Regions from separate parts of the Homo sapiens genome. Here region 1 is linked to region 2. The links are contacts of gene promoters, found by promoter capture Hi-C in blood cells and fetal thymus (Javierre and others, 2016). All regions are on one chromosome and are shown on one strand. The core of a region is centred on a gene start or on the middle of the fragment in contact, and the rest is flanking DNA. Distances in the headings are between cores, read along the strand shown.

Evidence for each region. Contacts are between HindIII fragments. The CHiCAGO score rates a contact against its expected background, and 5 or more counts as called.
Region 1: a contact is called between a fragment that was not itself captured here and the fragment with the promoter of LY96 in region 2, in 1 of 17 cell types (M0 macrophages). The highest score is 7.5, in M0 macrophages.

Annotation. Positions count from the first base shown.
Region 1 is chr8:73,319,375-73,322,928 of GRCh38, reverse strand. It overlaps RDH10 (retinol dehydrogenase 10), which reads right to left. Exons shown (of 6, transcript NM_172037.5): 4 at 1,852-1,997; 5 at 119-250; 6 at 1-16. RDH10-AS1 (RDH10 antisense RNA 1) reads left to right here. Exons shown (of 6, transcript NR_125388.1): 4 at 842-1,189. Among named protein-coding and RNA genes, the nearest start is that of RDH10, 27 kb to the right of the region's middle. The HindIII fragment of the contact is 1,414 bases long and covers 651-2,064 here.
Region 2 is chr8:73,989,463-73,992,756 of GRCh38, reverse strand. It overlaps LY96 (lymphocyte antigen 96), which reads right to left and starts at 1,365. Exons shown (of 5, transcript NM_015364.5): 1 at 1,203-1,365. The coding sequence starts at 1,314. RefSeq lists enhancers at 584-653, 1,024-1,123. The HindIII fragment of the contact is 3,298 bases long and covers 1,335-3,294 here.

The DNA.
Region 1 (3,554 bases), core at 108-2,607, 670 kb after region 2:
TTCAAATGGTAGGATGCTGAAAAAGGGAAGTCACAGCTGTTAGCAAACTTGAAGTTTCAATTAAGACATCGGGCAGGCATGGAGAGACCCAGTCAGTGAGGGAACCCCTCCCAGTTACCTCTTCATGAAGGTCACGATGTACATGAGGCGGGGAGTGCAGATCATGGGCTGGTCAGTGAGGATGGCCTTCATGGCCTGCTTCACACAGTAATCAGGCTTCAGAGGTGGCAGAAAAGGCTCAATTTCTTTCCTGAAAGTTATTTATTCAAAAACAAAATGAAAAATTAACACAATAGAAAAGACTGGAAATACATATCAAAACATTAACAGTGATGTTATCTGAGTGATGGGATTTTGGGTACATTTTGTTTTCTTCATAGTGCTTTTCTGTATTTTCCAAATTTTCCTGCTATGAACACATTTTATTGGCACAGTCTGGAGAACAAGTTGGGAAAAAAAAGCAAAATTGGTCTGCTTTTCCATAAGATGAAAAAGTCATGTTTTTAAGATGCCTTAAAAGTATTTCAAATTATTTTCCTATGTTTTGCTTTCAATAGAAAGAGGAGAAGGTGTTTGGCATAGCAAACACTAATCTCAAGCAAGATGCCAAGCTTTTAGTATTAGTTGTAGTCAAAATGAGGGTGTAAGCTTTCAAAGTGAAAGGAAGGCCACAGGTATCCACTTTCCAGGATGCCGGAAGAGGGAAAGCTAAGGTATATTCTCTAGGGGCCCCTGAAATGAAGGGTATATAGACATCCTACCTTCAGTTTGATTCACTGGGTTACATGTTGAAATGATAGTGTGCAATTTATTCCTTTCATTCTTCATTTTGCCACCATAGCTTTGGACCCCTGCACCTGCTGCTATGCTACACTGGAGGAAACAGAGCTCCGCAAGACCCTCAGCAACTGCTTCCCAAGTACATAAGAGGAAAACAAAACAAAACAAACCACCAACACACACACATGTTCACACAGACACACACATGTGTGGGATAAGAGGCAGAGCTAGAGTCCATTTTCCAGGTCAGACTTGGGACTCCAAGCCTGACTTTGGAGTGATTCAAATCACCTTCCACCTATTTTGCTGCTTGTTCAGTTCAGTACACGTTAAGAATGGCCCCCAACCAACAGGGAACTGGTTTGGTTATCTTCCTTTGCCTTTCAAACTCACCCAAGCAAAGATAAAAGTAAGCATGTCTTCACAAGCATCCTCTTAATGATTCACAGTTTTGTTTATTCTGCTGAGCTCAAGTCAGATGTAACTTGACATTTATATTCCCATATACCTCCTTTCTATGTGTGTGGGTATTTTATTTCATTTTTCAGTATATCTAAATGGTTCTTCTCATTCTGCCAGAGTGAATCTAGTTACATACGCTTGCTGCAAAAAGGAAGTTTCCAAATCTGGAGTGTAATATTCAATGGTCTTTTCAGAAGAAAGGCACGTTACTCTCTGTGACAGTAACATTGCTTCATATCCAGACCCAAGTCACATGAAGGAATTTTCTTCTAGAATCCTTATTTACCAATACCAATTTTAAAGAAACAAAATAACTCCAAAAGATGAGCTTCTAAGGAAAAGACTGGATACTTATGTTTTCTCTTTACAGAGAAGCCATTTCCTATCTAATGATTCTGGATTAATTTCTGCAAATTAGTATCAGTGTGTAGCACCAGTCTCTCCTTTGCAAATCTTATACACCAATTTTACAAACTTTACAAATCTTGACCAATAAAAGCCACAGATTGTCAAATGATAGTTAAAATACAAGGTTATGTTTGAAAGTCCAGTTCCACATATTCTCCCAACATATTCTTTTTATCAGTAATAATATAGGTTCTCACTGACCTGATTCGGCAGCCTCTGAACATGCCAGTGTCTACAAGATAAGGGCAAACCAAGGTTGTTTTAATTCCATCCTTTTCAGCAGCCTTTAGTTCATGGCTCAGGGATTCATGAAAACCCACAACTCCAAATTTACTGGCACAGTAATCCTGAGTTAAAGAGGGGAGAAAGCAGAAATACTAAGCATATGCCCCTATCTCCAACCAAACTAAAGCTTCCCTGGTCCTATTACCATGTTTAGATGTCTAATACATAAGGTTACAGGTGACTACACAAAGAAAAGGAAATCATTTTAAAAGACAGATACCTGGCTGGGCATAGTGGCTCATGCCTGTAATCCTAGCACTTTGGGAGGCCGAGGTGGCTGGATCACTTAAGGTCAGGAGCTCGAGACCAGCCTGGCCAAAATGGTGAAACCCCGCCTCTACTAAAAATACAAAAATTAGCTGGGCATGGTGGGCCTGTGCCTGTAGTCCCAGCTACTCAGGAGGCTGAGGCAGGAGAATTGCTTGAACCTGGGAGGTGGAGGTTGCAGTGAGCCAAGATCACACCACTGCACTCCAGCCTGGGTGACAGAGTGAGACTCTGTCTCAAAAAAAAAAAAACAAAAACAAAAACAAAAACAAAAACAAAAAAAAAACACAAACCAGATACCTGATGTGGTTCAGTGCAGAAATAATATTTTCAAAGCAACAGCAGAAACAGATGAATACTTTTTGTCACATCAACTAAGTATCATATTACTTTGGGGAAGTTACCATAAAGGATTCTATGAAAGCTCACAAGCTGAAGTTAAAATGGAGAGAGGTTCACTTTGAAGTGTCTGGAAAATTTACAAATGGTCTCTTGTTCAGTAAAGGAGAAAGAAAAACCAGTTTGTTTAAATTAATGCAAGAAGAATAAAGGCAAATCTAGCTTAGGCTATAAATTGTTATGATTTGACTTTCTTTGTAAGGCGAAGTTAAAATGAAAATGATAATCATGCCTTGTAATCTTAAACTAGAACTTAACCTAAAGGCACAGAATATAGAAAAAAAGTTATTGTCCATGGCCCAACTTCAGAAATGGAATCCCTTGATATAGGTGCTATTTAAATAATGTGTCCTTTTGCATATTTGCATGGAGTGATGTTTTCAGTTTTACAGGCATGCAGAGGACAAACAGGATAGAACAACATATATACTCATACTTTATAATCTGAATATCGTGAAGAACAGGGTTTGATGAAATCCAGTTCTACAATTCTACAAACTTACAATGCAGGATACCTGACCGCCTCATCTGATGGGCTAATTAATACAAGATAGCTCAGTTTTGGCAAGGTGACCACAACCGAATGTGAACCTCTGGCCTCATTCTTCTGTTCCCCACAGCTTTCCATGGTTCCATTCTTGGCCCTGTGCCTCCTGCCATCGTCAAGTGAAGCTGCTAATGAAAATGGGCACACTGAGGGCTGGCCCATCTACTTTTCTTGTCGCTGCTGCTTTGTCAAACTAGTGTAAGAGATTTTATGGCAGAAGAGGCAGAAGTCCATTCCCTTTCTTTGTTTTGTTTTAGAGACAGGGTCTTGCTCTATCTCCCAGGCTGAAGTGCAGTGGTGCCACCATAGCTCACTGCAGTCTTGAACACCTGGGCTCGCACGATTCTCCCACCTCAGCCTCTCAAGTAGCTAGGACTACAGGTGTGCGCCACCACACCTGACATAG
Region 2 (3,294 bases), core at 116-2,615:
AAGAGGGGAATGCAAAAGGATCTTGCAGCATGGAGAGATTTTAGACATACGTTTGGAGGGAATTCAGTGCAACCCACCAGGAGAAGGGCCATGGTGTGTGACTGGCCACACTCCTAAGTCTCCTCCTCACATGTGGCAATTATCCCAATTTCCCGAAAGTCACTTTATATTAGCATTTGGCAGAGCATGTTTCTCAAGAGAGTTAACATACACTCCAGACTAAAACACAAACAAACAAACAACAAATGAAATTGAAAATGTGGTTAAACAGGTGCCTTTATTGCAGAACTTCTCAGAACCCAAAGTACATCTGTAAATCTCTCCCAGATGATTAGGTCATAGATCCTATTTTCCCAAAAGAATCTCAAAGAACTGGTATTTTGGGAAGCACCACTTTAAACCTCCCAGCTATTGCTAGTGGGTGGAAAAGGGCAGCCAACCCATGGTAAGCAGCACGGTGGAAAGTACCGAACCAAAACAGCTGTCAGGCCTGACACTGTGCCTTCAGATCCCAGGACACTTGCTAATGAGCAGCTGGGGCAGGGGACAGTGACACAGCCAGTGAATAGTATTAGGGTATGGCTGACTCCAAAAAAAAATTAAGAGTATTATTGTCTCTATGTGACCCTATGCTAAAAAACTTCACCTCACAACACCCTTATCAAGTAGACTATAAAATCACTTTCACTTCAGTGCTAAAAAGGCTGGAGTACTTTGCTTAAGGTCACACAGCTAGTGACAGAACCAGGCTTTCATCCAGTGAGGGGGATGATTCCAAGAGCACTCAAGAGTCACAGCTTAGAGCAGAAATCAACTCCAGGAAGCAGCTGGGACTGCTCTACCATCTCAAGAAGAAGAACTAGTAAGTGTCAAGGCTGAGGTGAAAGCTCAGAAGCAGATGGTTTTATTAAAAATGGGCAGAACCAAAAACTGGGCTCAGGGTAGAGAAAGATGACGCAGGGAACAGAAGCACTTGGAGGTCAAGCACAACACAGTTTAGAGACTCACAAGCTCTGTGAGTGGTCGAGAACATTCTCATGGGGCAGCTGCCAGCTATTGCTTTTCCTGCTGGCAGCGTCCGCCACAGCAGCTGGAACACACTGATGTTTCGTGTGTTCCAGCCACAACAGTGTACGGTTCTCGTGAAAACTTACCCTCAAAATAGTTGATGCTACAATTATTTGTTTTGCGGTTTTACTTACCACAGTAGGTGTATGAAATACTTGCATCGGATGAGTTGCAGACCCAATACTGCTTCTGAGCTTCAGTAAATATGGAAGAAAACAGGGTGGAAAAAAACAGAAATGGTAACATGATTCAATATCTCCAAAGCTTTACAAATGCAAAGAGGATCAGTAACTAATCATCAGACTCTTCCTTTTCAGTAAGCAGAAAAGATTTAACTTAGTCATCAGTCACATGATTTCTGAGTTCCTATCCAACTGTTTCCTCTTTTTTTGTGTGTGTGTGCTCAACATTTGAGCACTTCCTGTAAAGGAAGAGAGAAAAATGATTTAGAATGTACTCTTCAAACACTTACTGTAAATGAGAGTGATCAAAGACTTAAAAATAAAACAAGACACTTTGGCCAGGCACGGTGGCTCATGCCTGTAATCTCAGTATTTTGGGAGGCTGAGGCAGGTGGATCACTTGAGGTCAGGAGTTCAAGACCAGCCTGGCTGACATGATGAAACACATCTCTACTAAAAATACAAAAATTAGCCAGGTGTGGTAGTGCATGCCTGTAATCCCAGCTATTCAGGAGGCTGAGGCAGGAGCTTCACTTTATCTGGGAGGCAGAGGTTGCAGTGAGCCAAGATGGCACCACTGCTCTCCAGCCTGGGCAACAGAGCAAGACTCCATTTCAAAAAAATTTTTTAAATGAAAAATAAAATAAAATAAACAAGACAATTCCCAGTCAACTGTAACAAAACCAGTCCCTAGGTCCCCCTGAAAGTCTCAACAGACAGGCACTCCTTTTCCCTCTGCATTATTCTTCTCTCCTACAGCTCTGTATAACAGCAGTCCCCAACATTTTTGGCCTCAGGGATCAGTTTCATGGAAGACAATTTTTCCACGGACTGAGGGGATGGGGAGGGATGGTTTCAGGGTGAAACTGTTCCACCTCAGAACATCAGGCATTAGATTCTTATAGGGAGCACGCAACCTAGATCCCTCGCTTGTATACTTCATAACAAGGTTCCTGCTCCCATGGGAATCTAATGCTGCTGCTGGTCTGACAGGAGCTGGAGCTCAGGTGGTAATGCTCGCTCACCTGCTGTTAACCTCCAGCTGTGCAGCCCACTTCCTAACAAGCCACAACCAGATTCCTAACAGGCCATGGACTGGTACTGGTCCACGGCCCCCAGAGGATGGGGCCTCCTGCTTTATAAAACAAATTCTCAGCTGGGCACGGTGGCTCATGCCTGTCATCCCAGCATTTTGGGATACCAAGGTGGGTGGATCACTTGAGGTCAGGAGTTCAAGACCAGCCTGGCCAACATGGTGAAATTCCGTCTCTACTAAAAATATAAAAATTAGCCAGGCATGGTGGCACACACCTGTAATCCCAGCTACTCGGGAGGCTGAGGCAGGAGAATCGCTTGAACCCAGGAGGCAGAGGTTGCAGTGAGCCAAGATTGGGCCACTACACTCCAGCCTGGGCAACAGAGTGAGACTCGGTCTCAAAAACAAACAAACAGGCCAGGCGCAGTGGCTCACCTCTGTAAATCCCAGCACTTTGGGAGGTCAAGGTGGGCGGATCACCTGAGGTCAGGAGTTTGAAACCAGCTTGACCGACATAGTGAAACCCTGTCTCTACTAAAAATACAAAAATTAGCTAGGCATGGTGGCAAGTGCCTGTAGTCCCAGCTACTCAGGAGGCTGAGGCAAGAGAATTGCTTGAACCGAGGAGGTGGAGTTTGCAGTGAGCCAAGATTATGTCACTGCACTCCAGCCTGGGAGACAGAGCGAGACTCCATCTCAAAAAACAACAATAACAACAACAAATCAAATTATCATGGCCCAGAGAGCTGCACCTATAGATCTGAAGTAAACAGTCTCATGGAAACTATTTCTTTTCAGCAGCAGGTTTAGTTACAGGACAGAACAGGGCCAGATAAGACCCCAAACAGGGGACACTAGCTGTAATTCTGTGCTGTGGGCAGGGACTCCACCAGTCTTAATAATGTATTCACCTACAACAAGCTAGAGCTCAAGAGAACATTTTGAGTCCTAATAATGAAATGTCATCCTTTTGTTATGACATGTATTTCATTTCAAAACTCTCACTCC